Linked DNA regions of Homo sapiens: region 1 is linked to region 2. The links are contacts of gene promoters, found by promoter capture Hi-C in human tissues and cell types (Jung and others, 2019). All regions are on one chromosome and are shown on one strand. Each heading gives the region's core, a stretch centred on a gene start or on the middle of the fragment in contact. The rest is flanking DNA. Distances are from core to core; before and after follow the strand shown. Region 1 overlaps WTIP (WT1 interacting protein). Region 2 holds the start of WTIP (WT1 interacting protein).

What was found. The method cuts DNA at HindIII sites, captures the fragments that hold promoters and counts their contacts. A contact is called where the count stands out against the background at its distance.
Region 1: a fragment that was not itself captured here is called in contact with the fragment with the promoter of WTIP in region 2 in 2 of the 25 tissues and cell types used here (H1 embryonic stem cells and spleen).

The regions. Positions count from the first base shown.
Region 1 is chr19:34,512,225-34,518,205 of GRCh38, forward strand. WTIP (WT1 interacting protein) reads left to right here. Exons shown (of 8, transcript NM_001080436.2): 8 at 1-80. Among named protein-coding and RNA genes, the nearest start is that of WTIP, 33 kb to the left of the region's middle. The HindIII fragment of the contact is 7,287 bases long and covers 558-5,981 here.
Region 2 is chr19:34,477,282-34,483,052 of GRCh38, forward strand. WTIP (WT1 interacting protein) reads left to right here and starts at 4,477. Exons shown (of 8, transcript NM_001080436.2): 1 at 4,477-5,360. The coding sequence starts at 4,694. RefSeq lists enhancers at 3,550-4,204, 4,205-4,860, 4,861-5,515. The HindIII fragment of the contact is 21,139 bases long and covers 1-5,771 here.

The DNA of each region.
Region 1 (5,981 bases), core at 2,951-5,450, 35 kb after region 2:
GGCATTGGCTGTTGGCATCATGAGGACCCCACGTATTGTACTTTGATAAAGTTAATAAATGGAATTCTCCTTTACCTCAAGAATGCCTTATGTGTTGTGTGTAGCATGCACCTTCTTGTGGAAACAGCTTCACATGTGAGAGCCCTAGCACGCAGGTGATTTCAGGACCACCCCCAGCCCATCCCGTGGCGCAGGATCCAGGCAGCTGCAGTGCAGGCGAGGACCCCTGGCTGGGCGCGGTCCTGTGCGGGTCCCTGTGCGGTGCAGGCGTCCATGCACTCTGAGACTCTCAGCCTGCTCTGTGGCCTGTCACGTTGTGTGTGGGGCAAGACGCTTGGGTGCACATATGTGAGAATGGGACTGTGTGTGTGAGTGGAATGCGCTGTTGGGAGCGTGTGGGGTGTGTGTGTGTGGCACCTGCGGTTGGGGTGTGTGACTGTGTAGGGTGGGGATCTGTGATTATATGAATATGAGGGTGTGATTGTTGCTGGGACTGGGCACGTGGCTGCCTCTGTCTCTGCCTCTGTGTCTGATAGAGACAGGAAGAGATGGGGGAGGCCTGGTGTGGGGGCCCTGCGGGACAGGGCCAGGGGACCCTTCCTCACTTTACGCCATCTGAGGACCCTCCCCAAGGGGAAAAGCCAGCTACAGTGGAAAAGCACTGGCAGAGTGGGCTTCGTCCTGGGGAGAGAGGCTGGGAGACTGCAGCTGAAAGATGTGGGCTCCAGGAGGGCCTCAGGGGGCTGAGCATCAGGGTCAGGGAATAGAGGGCCTGGGAGCAGAGGGCGGCCCTCCCTCCATCTTCCTTCCTTCTCTGGACTTCAGAGCACTGTGTCCCCTTCCCACTTGCACAGCTGCAGGTGGAGCCAGCTGGGGGGCTTTCTAGAGGGAGTGGGGTCCTCTGAGGGCCAAGAGGGCCAGGTCCCTGAGGACCTGAGGCCCCTCTGGGCCTCCCAGGGCTGGGCCTGTGGCTCTGATCTGCTTTGTCCTGGGAGGGACATGCTCAGTGGTGGGGTTTGTGTAGCTGTCACTCACTCACCTGCCTGTGCCCAGCCACTCACCTCTCACTCCCATCAGCCCCACCCAATACACACGTGGTTCCTCAACTACCATGAGGGGAAGTTCCTGCCTGTGTCACACACATCCATCCCACCCACCACACTGCAGGTTACAGGACTGCCCCACAAGTGCCACCATGCCCGCATGAGGTTACCTGGCACACAGGTATCCTCACCTGCATGACATGACCAGATCGTGCACTTTCTATGCCAGGGCCAGGGCCAGGGCAAGCTTGCACCTTCAGCCTTGGGGACACTGGGGGTGGTGGTGGCTGGAGGCCAGGGAAGTCACCAGGCTGGAGACATCATCTACCTCCAGGAGAGGGTTGATATCAGACATCTCCCGTGCACCACTTTAAGCCACCTCAGCCTCACCTGGGAATCTGGCTGCAGGTGAGTCCCAGCAGTGGACCAGCATGGGACCAGCAGTTCCATGAAGCTTTAGACCATCTCTAGGCTTAGGAAGGGGCTCCCTTGTCATCACTTGGTCCGGGCTGCACGTCTTGTGACCAAGGGCTCTGGACGGCAGATGCAGCCAGCCAGAGCGTGGGGCTGAGGGGCCTGGGCACAGGAGGGATGTGAGGGCTTCCCTGCACCCCCATGGCCACCATTTCAGAGGGAGGACAGCAATTGTTTGGGTTTGTCCTGTGAGTGGTGGCAGAGAGCAGGGCCCTGGGCAGGTCCAGGGCCAGACAGGAATCCTGTGCTGCAGCCTCGGGGCCACAAGGGCACAGCATGGGGCCGGTGTGGGGGTGTTCCCTGTGCCAAACACATTGGCAGGAGGTGCCCTGGGGTCAGTGGGTATGTCAGAGCTGTCAGGCCTCTGAGCCCAAGCTAAGCCATCATATCCCCTGTGACCTGCATGTATACATCCAGATGGCCTGAAGTAACTGAAGAATCACAAAAGAAGTGAAAATGGCTTGTTCCTGCCTTAACTGATGGCATTACCTTGTGAAATTTCTTCTCCTGGCTCATCCTGGCTCAAAAGCTCCCCCACTGAGCACCTTGTGACCCCCACCCCTGCCAGCCAGAGGACAACCTCCTTTGACTGTAATTTTCCACTACCTACCCAAGTCCTATAAAACAGCCCCACCCCTATCTCCCTTCGCTGACTCTGTTTTCGGACTCAGCCCGCCTGCACCCAGGTGAAATAAACAGCCTTGTTGCTCACACAAAGCCTGTTTGGTGGTCTCTTCACACGTACGCGCGTGAAATTTGGTGCCGTGACTTGGATGGGGGGACCTCCCTTGGGAGATCAATCCCCTGTCCTCCTGCTCTTTGCTCCATGAGAAAAAGATCCACGTACAATCTCTGGTCCTCAGACCAACCAGCCCAAGGAACATCTCACCAATTTTAAATTGGGTAGGTGGCCTCTCTTTACTCTCTTCTCCAACTTCTCTCACTATCCCTCCACCTCTTTCTCCTTTCAGTCTTGGCGCCACACTTCAATCTCTCCCTTCTCTTAATTTCAGTTCCTTTTCTGATAGAGACAGAGAAGACGCGTATTATCCGTGAGCCCAAAACTCTGGTGCCAGTCAAGGACTCGGGAAAACAGCCTTCCCTTGGTGTTTAATCACTGTGAGGACACCTGCTTGATTATTCACCCACGTTTCAGAGGTGTCTGATCACTGCGGGGACGCCTGCCTTGATCCTTCACCCTTAGTGGCAAGCACCACTTTTTGGGGGGCAAGCAACCCCCCACCCCTTCTCTCCGTGTCTCTACCCTCTCTTTTCTCTCCACTTTCTTGTGGGGAAACACTCCCCACTCCTTCTTCACTTTCCTCTGGGTGGCAAGCATCCCCCACCCCTTCTCTCCCTGTCTCTACCCTCTCTTTTCTCTCCACTTTCCAGGGGGACAAGCACCCCCCTCCCCTTCTCTCCGTGTCTCTACCCTCTCTTTTCTCTGGACTTGCCTCCTTCCCTATAGGCAAACTTCCACCCTCCATTCCTCCTTCTTCTTCCTTAGCCTGTGTTCTCAAGAACTTAAAACCTCTTCAACTCACACCTGACCTAAAGCCTAAATGCCTTATTTTCTTCTGCAATGCCACTTAACCTCAATACAAACTTGACAATGGTTCCAAATAGCCAGAAAATGGCACTTTCGAGTTCTCCATCCTACAAGATCTAGATAATTCTTGTCATAATATGGGCAAATGGTCTGAGGTGCTTGATGTCCAGGCATTCTTTTACACACTGGTCCCTCCCTAGTCTCTGTTCCCAATGCAACTCATCCCAAATCTTCCTTCTTCCCCCCCCCCCCCCCGCCTGTCCCCTCAGTCCCAACCGCAAGTGTTGCTGCGTCTTTCCAATCGTTCTTCTTTACAGACCCATCTGACATCTCCCCTCCTCCCCAGGCTGCTCCTCGCCAGGCCAAGCCAGGTCCCAATTCTTCCTCAGCCTCTGCTCCCCCACCCTATAATCCTTTCATCACCTCCCTTCTTCACACCTGGTCCGGCTTACAGTTTCATTCCACGACTAGCCCTTCCCCACCTGCCCAACAATTTCGTCTTAAAGAGGTAGCTGGAGCTAAAGGCATAGTCAAGGTTAACGCTCCTTTTTCTTTATCCGACCTCTCCCAAATCAGTTAGCGTTTAGGCTCTTTTTCCTCAAATATAAAAACCCAGCCCAGTTCATGGCTTGTCTGGCAGCAACCCTGAGACACTTTACAGCCCTAGATCCTAAAAGGTCAAAAAGCTGTCTTATTCTCAATATACATTTTATTACCTAATCTGCTCCCAACATTAAATAAAACTCCAAAAATTAAACTCCAGCCCTCAAACCCCACAACAGGACTTAATTAACCCCACCTTCAAGATGTACAGTAATAGACTAGAGGCAGCCAAGTAGCAACATATTTCTGAGTTGCAATTCCTTGCCTCCACTGTGAGAGAAACCCCAGGCACATCTCCAGCACACAAGAACTCCAAACACCTGAACCACAGTGGCCAGGCGTTCCTTCAGGACTGCCTGCCCCAGGAGCTTGCTTCAAGTGCTGGAAATCTGGCCACTAGGCCAAGGAATGCCTGCAGCCTGGGATTCCTCCTAAGCCATGTCCCATCTGTGTGGGACCCCACTGGAAATCGGACTGTCCAACCCGGCAGCCACTCTCAGAGCCCCTGGAACTCTGGCCCAAGGCTCTCTGACGGACTCCTTCCCAGATCTTCTCGGCTTAGTGGCTGAAGACTGATGCAGCCTGATCACCTTGGAAGCCCCCTGGACGCCGAGCTTCTGGTGACTCTCACAGTGGAGGGTAAGTCCGTCCCCTTCTTAATCAATACAGAGGCTACCCCCTCCACATTACCTTCTTTTCAAGGGCCTGTTTCCTTTGCCTCCATAACTGTTGTGGGTATTGACAGCCAGGATTCTAGACCCCTTAAATCTCCCCCACTCTGGTGCCAACTTGGACAATACTCTTTTATGCACTTCTTTTTAGTTATCCCCACCTGCCTAGTTCCCTTATTAGGTCTAGGCATTTTAACTAAATCATCTGCTTCCCTGACTATTCCTAGGCTACAGCCACACCTCATTGCTGCCCTTTTCCCCAGTTCAAAGCCTCCTTCACATCTTCCCCTTGTATCTCCGCACCTTAATCCACAAGTATAGGACACCTCTACTGCCTCCTTGGTGACTGATCATGCACCCCTTACCATCCCATTAAAACCTAATCACCCTTACCCCACTCAATGCCAATATCCCATCCCACAGCATGCTTTGAAAGGATTAAACCTGTTATCACTCACCTGCTACAGCATAGCCTTTTAAAGCTTATAAACTCTCCTTACAATTCCCCCATTTTACCTGTCCAAAAACTGGAAAAGCCTTACAGGTTAGTTCAGGATCTGCACCTTATTAACCAAATTGTCTTGCCTATCCACCCCATGGTGCCAAAGCCATATACTCTTCTATTCTCAATACCTCCCTCCCCAACCCCTCCATAACCCATTATTCTGTTCCGGATCTCAAACACGCTTTCTTTACTATTCCTTTGCACACTTCATCCCAGCCTCTCTTTGCTTTCACTTGGACTGACCCTGACAACCATCAGCCTCAGCAAATTACCTGGGCTGTACTACTGCAAGCCTTCACAGACAGCCCCCATTACTTCAGTCAAGCCCAAATTTCATCCTCATCTGTAACCTATCTCAGCATAATTCTCATAAAAACACACATGCTCTCCCTGCTGATCATGTCTGGCTAATCTCCCAAACCCCAATCCCTTCTACAAAACAACAACTCCTTTCCTTCCTAGGCATGGTTAGGTACTTCCGCCTTTGGATACCTAGTTTTGCCATCCTCACAAAAGCAAACCTAGCTGACCCCACAGATCCTAACACCTCTCAGCAAGCCAGACTCATTGCCTTAACTCAGGCCCTCACTCTTGCAAAGAGACTTTGCATCAGTATTTATACTGACTGTCAATATGCCTTCCATATCCTGCACCACCATGCTCCTGCTGCAGTTAACTAGCCCAACCTATTCCTTTAATTCAGCCCATCCCTTTGTTTCCCATAAAGGATACTTTTAGTTAATTTAATATCTATAGAAACAATGCTAATGACTCATTTGCTGTTAATCAATACGTGGGTAAATCTCTGTTTGGGGCTCTCAGCTCTGAAGGCTGTGAGACCCCTGATTTCCCACGTCACACCTCTGTATTTCTGTGCGTGTGTCTTTAACTCCTCTAGCACCACTGGGTTAGGGTCTCCCCGACTGAGCTGGTCTCGGCATTGTTCCTAGAGTGTCTTTGCTGGTTTTGGTCCTCTGCATTCCCATATAAGTTTAGAAACAACTTTTTGATTTCAACTTGGAGAGAATTGAAGTTTTGATAGTATTGAGTATTCCTCTCCATAACGCTGGTACATGGTGCCATTTATTTTGGTCTTCCCTATTTTCTCTCTATAACTTTTTACATATATATTTCTA
Region 2 (5,771 bases), core at 3,227-5,726:
AAAAAAAAAAAAAAAAAAAAAAATATATATATATATATATATATAGACACACACACACACACACATACATATACATATATATACACATATATATACATACATATATATACACACACATACATATATATACACACACATACACACACACACACACGTGCACACACAAAAGTTAGCCAGGCATGGTGGTGGATGCCTGTAATTCCAGCTACTTGGGAGGCTGAGGCAGGAGAATGGCTTGAACCTGGGAGGCGGAGGTTGCAGTGGTTGCGGTGAGCCGATATCACGCCATTGCACTCCAGCCTAGGCAACAAGAATGAAACTCCGTCTCAAAACAAAAAACAAACAAAAAATCACCATGGCGTGGACAGAGTCTGGGTAGGGTCAGCTCCTGGGTTCTGGGAAGATGATGATGATGATGGTTCAGGACATGGTGCAAGACTAGATTGAACATGTCCTGTTCTGGCCTCCAAGTGTGTCTTTGCTTAACAAAGGGAAGACCAGTTAACTTGAGAGGATGATAAACTGGAAGCCACAGTGTAGTGAAACCCCTCCTTTGGAACAGTGGGACTCAGGCAGCGGTGTGTGGAGCCAGCTTATCCCAGCTTGCAAGAACTGGTTATACCCATTTCTTTCCAGCTCAGTTCAGTGGCCCCATCTTTATAGCTTGAAATTGGCCATGCTGGGAGTATTTATACCATGGTAATTGGCAAATGCTACACATCAGGGCTCCTGATTTATACAAATTCCTCCCCAGAGAGCTGGTTGTTAGACATTTACCAGCACACCACTGGACTCAGGAGGAAAATGCCCAGAGAGAGGTGAACACAAAGAACATTCCTGCAACAGGGGAGGACAGAGGGGGAATCAGTGGGGGCTGGACATTGAGTCCATGGACAGTGCTTTAAATCCCTTGAGAGAGCCCCATCCCCATCCTTCTCCTGGACTGTGCATCTCAGACAGAAGGAGCCAGTCTGTTGAGATCACTCAATACCCCTGGAGTGAGGAGATAGAAGATGGGGTCAGGGGGACATTTGGGTAATGTAGAGATGAGACCCCACAATTCTGCAGACTACTTCAAATCCACCTAACATCACAATAGTCTGATTCCCAAGCCATTCATTAAATCTTTTGAATATAACTGCTTAATGTATTTCCCACTTCAAGGATGTACTTAAACTATTCTAATGGTAAATATCAAACATTTTAGGTTGTTTCTGGGTTTTGTAGTTGTCATTTATTACTAGTAGAGCAAGTAATAGGTTTTAGCTGACCCTGGATGTGAATATAGTTTAAATCTTGAAAGCTCTAAGTGGGCAGGTGGGGAAAGAACAGTTGTTATTATTATTATTATTATTATTATTATTATTATTATTATTATTATTATTCTGGAGGCAGGGTATTGCTGTGTCACCCAGGCTGGAATGCAGTGGTGTCATCTTGGCTCACTGCAACCTCTGCCTCCTGGGTTCAAGCGATTCTTGTGCCTCAGCCTCCCAAGTAGCTGGGATTACAGGCGTGCACGACTACACCCAGCTAATTTTTGTATTTGTATTTTAATAGAGACAGGGTTTCGCTATGTTGGCCAGGCTGGTCTCAAACTCCTGAGCTCAAGTGATCCGCCCGTCTCAGCCTCCCAGTGTTCTGGGATTACAGGAGTGAGCCACCGTGCCCAGCCAGAACAGTTATTAAATACTTGACTTTATTGTTTTTGTAGAGACAGGGTCTTGCTCTGTCACCCAGGCTAGAGTGTGGTGGCACAGTTATAGCTCACTGTAACCTCAGACTCCTGGGCTCAAGTAATCCTCCCGCCTCTGTCTCCCGAACAGCTGAACTACAAGTGCCCGTCACCGCGCCAGTTTAATTTTTTGTTTTTTATTGTAGAGATGAATCTCGTTCTGTTGTCTAGGCTGAAGTGCAGTGGTGCCCTCACTGCTCACTGTAGCCTTGACCTCCTGGGCTCAAGCATCCTCCCGCCTTAGATTCCCAAAATACCTGGGACTACAGGCATGTGCCACCATTGGCAGCTAATTTTTAATGTTTTGTAGGGATGGAATCTCACTATGTTTCCCAGACTGGTCTTGAACTCTTGGCCTTAAGCAATCCTCCCATACTGGCCTCTCAAAGCACTGGGATTACATCACACTCAGCCCAACAGCTGCCTTTAAATGCAGAGAGCTCCCTTTGAGCATCTTTTCAGAAGGCTGGAGATCCTAGGACAGAATAGATCAGGGGTCCCCAACCCCTGGGCCACAGACCAGTATACCACCGCCTGTTAGGAACTGGGCCACACAGCAGGAGGTGAGCAGAGGCGAGGGAGCATTACCACCTGAGTCCCACCACGATTCTCACAGAAGCACGAAGCCTATTGTGAACTGCGCATGCGAAGGACCTAGGCTGTGTGCTCCTTATGAGAATCTAATGCCTGATGATCTGTCACTGTCTCCCATCACCCCCAGATGGGACCGTCTAGTTGCAGGAAAACAAGCACAGGGCTCCCACTCTTTCTATGGTATAGTGAGTTGTATAATTATTTCATTATATATTACAATGTAATAATAATAGAAATAAAGTGCACAATAAATATAATGCCCTTGAATCATCCTGAAGCCATTCCCACCCTCCCCATCCCTGTCTGTGGAAAAATTGTCTTCCACAAAACCAGTCCCTGGTGCCAAAAAGGTTGGGGACCGCTGTAGATTACCTAAATGATGTTGGGATTATACGACACGGTTGTGATTGGATTATTGTCTGCATTTTTGATAACTTCCCTTGAATAGATGTTTAGCAGCAGTATTACTGCTTCTAAGTTTCGTGTTCGTTTGTGCGGATGTTGACACCGCCAAACTGCTCTTCCCAAAAGGATATCCCAATTTGCACTCATACCAGTAGCATATGTGCAACTGTTTCACCACAGTCCTGCCAATATTGTAATTTTTAAATAGTAGATAATGCAGTCCATGAAATGTGATATGACTGAACTGGCTTTTCCTTTCTCATTTGAAAGGTAGACCATTTTTCATGTCCTGGCTTCCCTGGGTATTTGCTCTCCCAAATGCTGGCTTCTAGACCCCGCACGGAGTCTCATGCCTGTAATCTCAGCGTTTTGTGTGGTGGTGTGCGCCTGTACTCCTACGTACTCAGGAGTCCGAGGTGGGAGGATTGCTTGAGCCCAGGAGGTTGAGACTCTGGGGTGTGTGTGATCACTGTGAGCTGTGATCACACCACTGTACTCCAGCCTGGGGGACAGAGCGACACCTTGTCTGAAAAAAACAAAACAGCGCAACTCCCCCACCCTCCGCGCACACGAAATGCTTGCTTCCACTTCCCCTACCCTGGTGGGGCAGGGGCTGGAACTCCGCAGGCTATGGGAAGGTGCTGGGGTTAGCGGCCCCAGCGGGTGCTCAGTGGTGTTGAGGCCACACTGCCCTGGGCGGTCTGGCCGGGACAGTTCCCGTGCGGGCTCCCTGCGCGCTGAGCCACTGTAGGCGCCTTCCCGAAAATCTCTGAGCAGAGAGGGCCTGGAAAACAGTACTCTCTCACGCAACACTTTTCTTGGATCCATCAGGCCCTGACAGATAACGGTTTGGTTTTCTTCCCTATAGCCGTGTGACTTGTACAAGGGATTTTAGTTGTGTCCTTGGGCACGAAGCCCTAGTCACCTCTCGATTCCCCACCTATGTGGCCCCTATGGCCCCGCTGGTTCCAGGACCTCCCCTCGAAGCCTCACCCACCACCCTGGATGCAGGTGCTGGAAAAGGGAGGAGTCCCCATATTTCACGGGGACTGCCTGTGATGGCCACAGGGGAGGCTCGCCGCCCACCGGCTCTGAGCCTGAGGCCTGCTTCTAGCCTGGCCTTGGGGGCCTGGGCGAAGCGACCCAGCGCGAGGACCAGTCCCCAACCAACCCGCTCCTAGTTCTGGGCGCCTTCCCCAGCAGTCAGATGGGGGCTTCAGAGGCCGGTGCGCGGCCACATGGCCCCGGGCCAGGCAGGGGGTCGTGGGGACGCATCTGCGCTAGGCGCACAGTATTCCTGGGCGCGGGACGGGCGAAGCGCCGTGGGTTCCAAGCTGAGCTGGGTCGGCCCTGCAGCGCCGGAGAGCAAGGCGGCGCAGGGAAGGGAGATGGGGCGGGATGTGGGGAAAGCTGTCGACTGCTTGGATCTCTCCGGCCCGGATGGCGCCAGCTGCCTCCAGCTCAGCCTGCGGAAATCCGAGCTCTTCCCAGCGGCCCGACGGCCCGGGCGCCCCGCAGACCCTGGGCTCTCCCCGCGGTGCCTCCGCCGCCCGCCCCTGCGTCCTGGCCCGGCCTCCACGCCCCTCCGAGGTCCCGGCGCAGCGCGGCCGCCGCCACTCCCCCCACATTCCAGAGGCCGCAGCGCCGTCTCCTTCCTCGCATTCCTGCCCCCGCAAAGGAGTCCCTCCGCCCCGCGCGAGGCCGCGGCGAGGAGGGGGCGCGGCCCGGCGCCTGGGAGCTTACATTCCTCCGCCGCGCGCGCCGCCGAGCAGGGCGCCGCGTCCCCCGGCCCGCGCGTGGCCGCCGGAACGACCCCGGCCCGGCGCCGGCCCCGCCCCGCCCCGCGCCCAGGGGTCCCGGGGCGGGCTCCGGGCTTCGGGCGGACGATGCGGCGGCCCGGCCGGAGCGGCGGCGGGAAGCGGAGGCGGAGGTGACGCGCCAGGGCCGGCGGGCCGGGCCATGCAGCGCTCCAGGGCGGGCGCGGACGAGGCGGCCCTACTCCTGGCCGGGCTGGCCCTGCGGGAGCTGGAGCCCGGGTGCGGCTCTCCCGGTCGGGGGCGGCGGGGGCCGCGGCCTGGGCCTGGAGACGAGGCGGCGCCCGCGCTGGGCCGCAGAGGGAAGGGCAGCGGCGGCCCCGAGGCCGGGGCGGACGGACTGAGCCGCGGGGAGCGGGGTCCCCGGCGCGCGGCGGTTCCGGAGCTCAGCGCGCAGCCTGCGGGCAGCCCACGGGCCAGCCTGGCGGGGTCCGACGGCGGCGGCGGTGGCGGCAGCGCCCGATCCAGCGGCATCAGCCTGGGCTACGACCAGCGCCACGGCAGCCCGCGCTCCGGTCGCTCGGACCCGCGTCCCGGTCCCGGGCCGCCTTCGGTGGGCAGCGCCCGCTCCAGCGTTTCCAGCCTCGGCTCCCGGGGCTCGGCCGGCGCCTACGCTGACTTCCTCCCGCCCGGCGCCTGCCCCGCGCCCGCTCGCTCCCCGGAGCCTGCGGGGCCGGCTCCCTTCCCGCTGCCTGCACTCCCGCTGCCCCCTGGCCGGGAGGGCGGCCCAAGCGCGGCCGAGCGGCGGCTGGAGGCGCTCACCCGGGAGCTGGAGCGGGCGCTCGAGGCGCGCACGGCGCGGGACTACTTCGGTGAGCTCGCTCGGCCCGGCAGTTCCCTGCGCGCATGGCTGGGGTCCGGGGTTCCGAGACTGCCTCGGGTAGGCGGCCGGATCAGCGGAGGAGAGCACGGGGCTGGCTGGGGGTGCAGCAGTGCACGGGGTTGGGACGAGGAAGGTGCATCCCCTGGGGACTGGGGAGCGCAAAGGGTGAGTGAGTGCGCCTGGATCCCCAGCAGCGGCTTCACCCCTGCCTCTGGGTCCCCCGACACACGAGGGGTTCTGGCCGAGTGAGTTGATGTGCGGTTCCTAACTTAACAGGCAAGTCAGGTTCATGGGCACACTGAGCCATTTTCTGATAATTTTTTCTTCTTTCTTCTTTTTTTTTTTTCTTTCTTCTTTTTTTTTTTTTTTTGAGACAGGGTCTTCCTCTGTCGCCGAGACT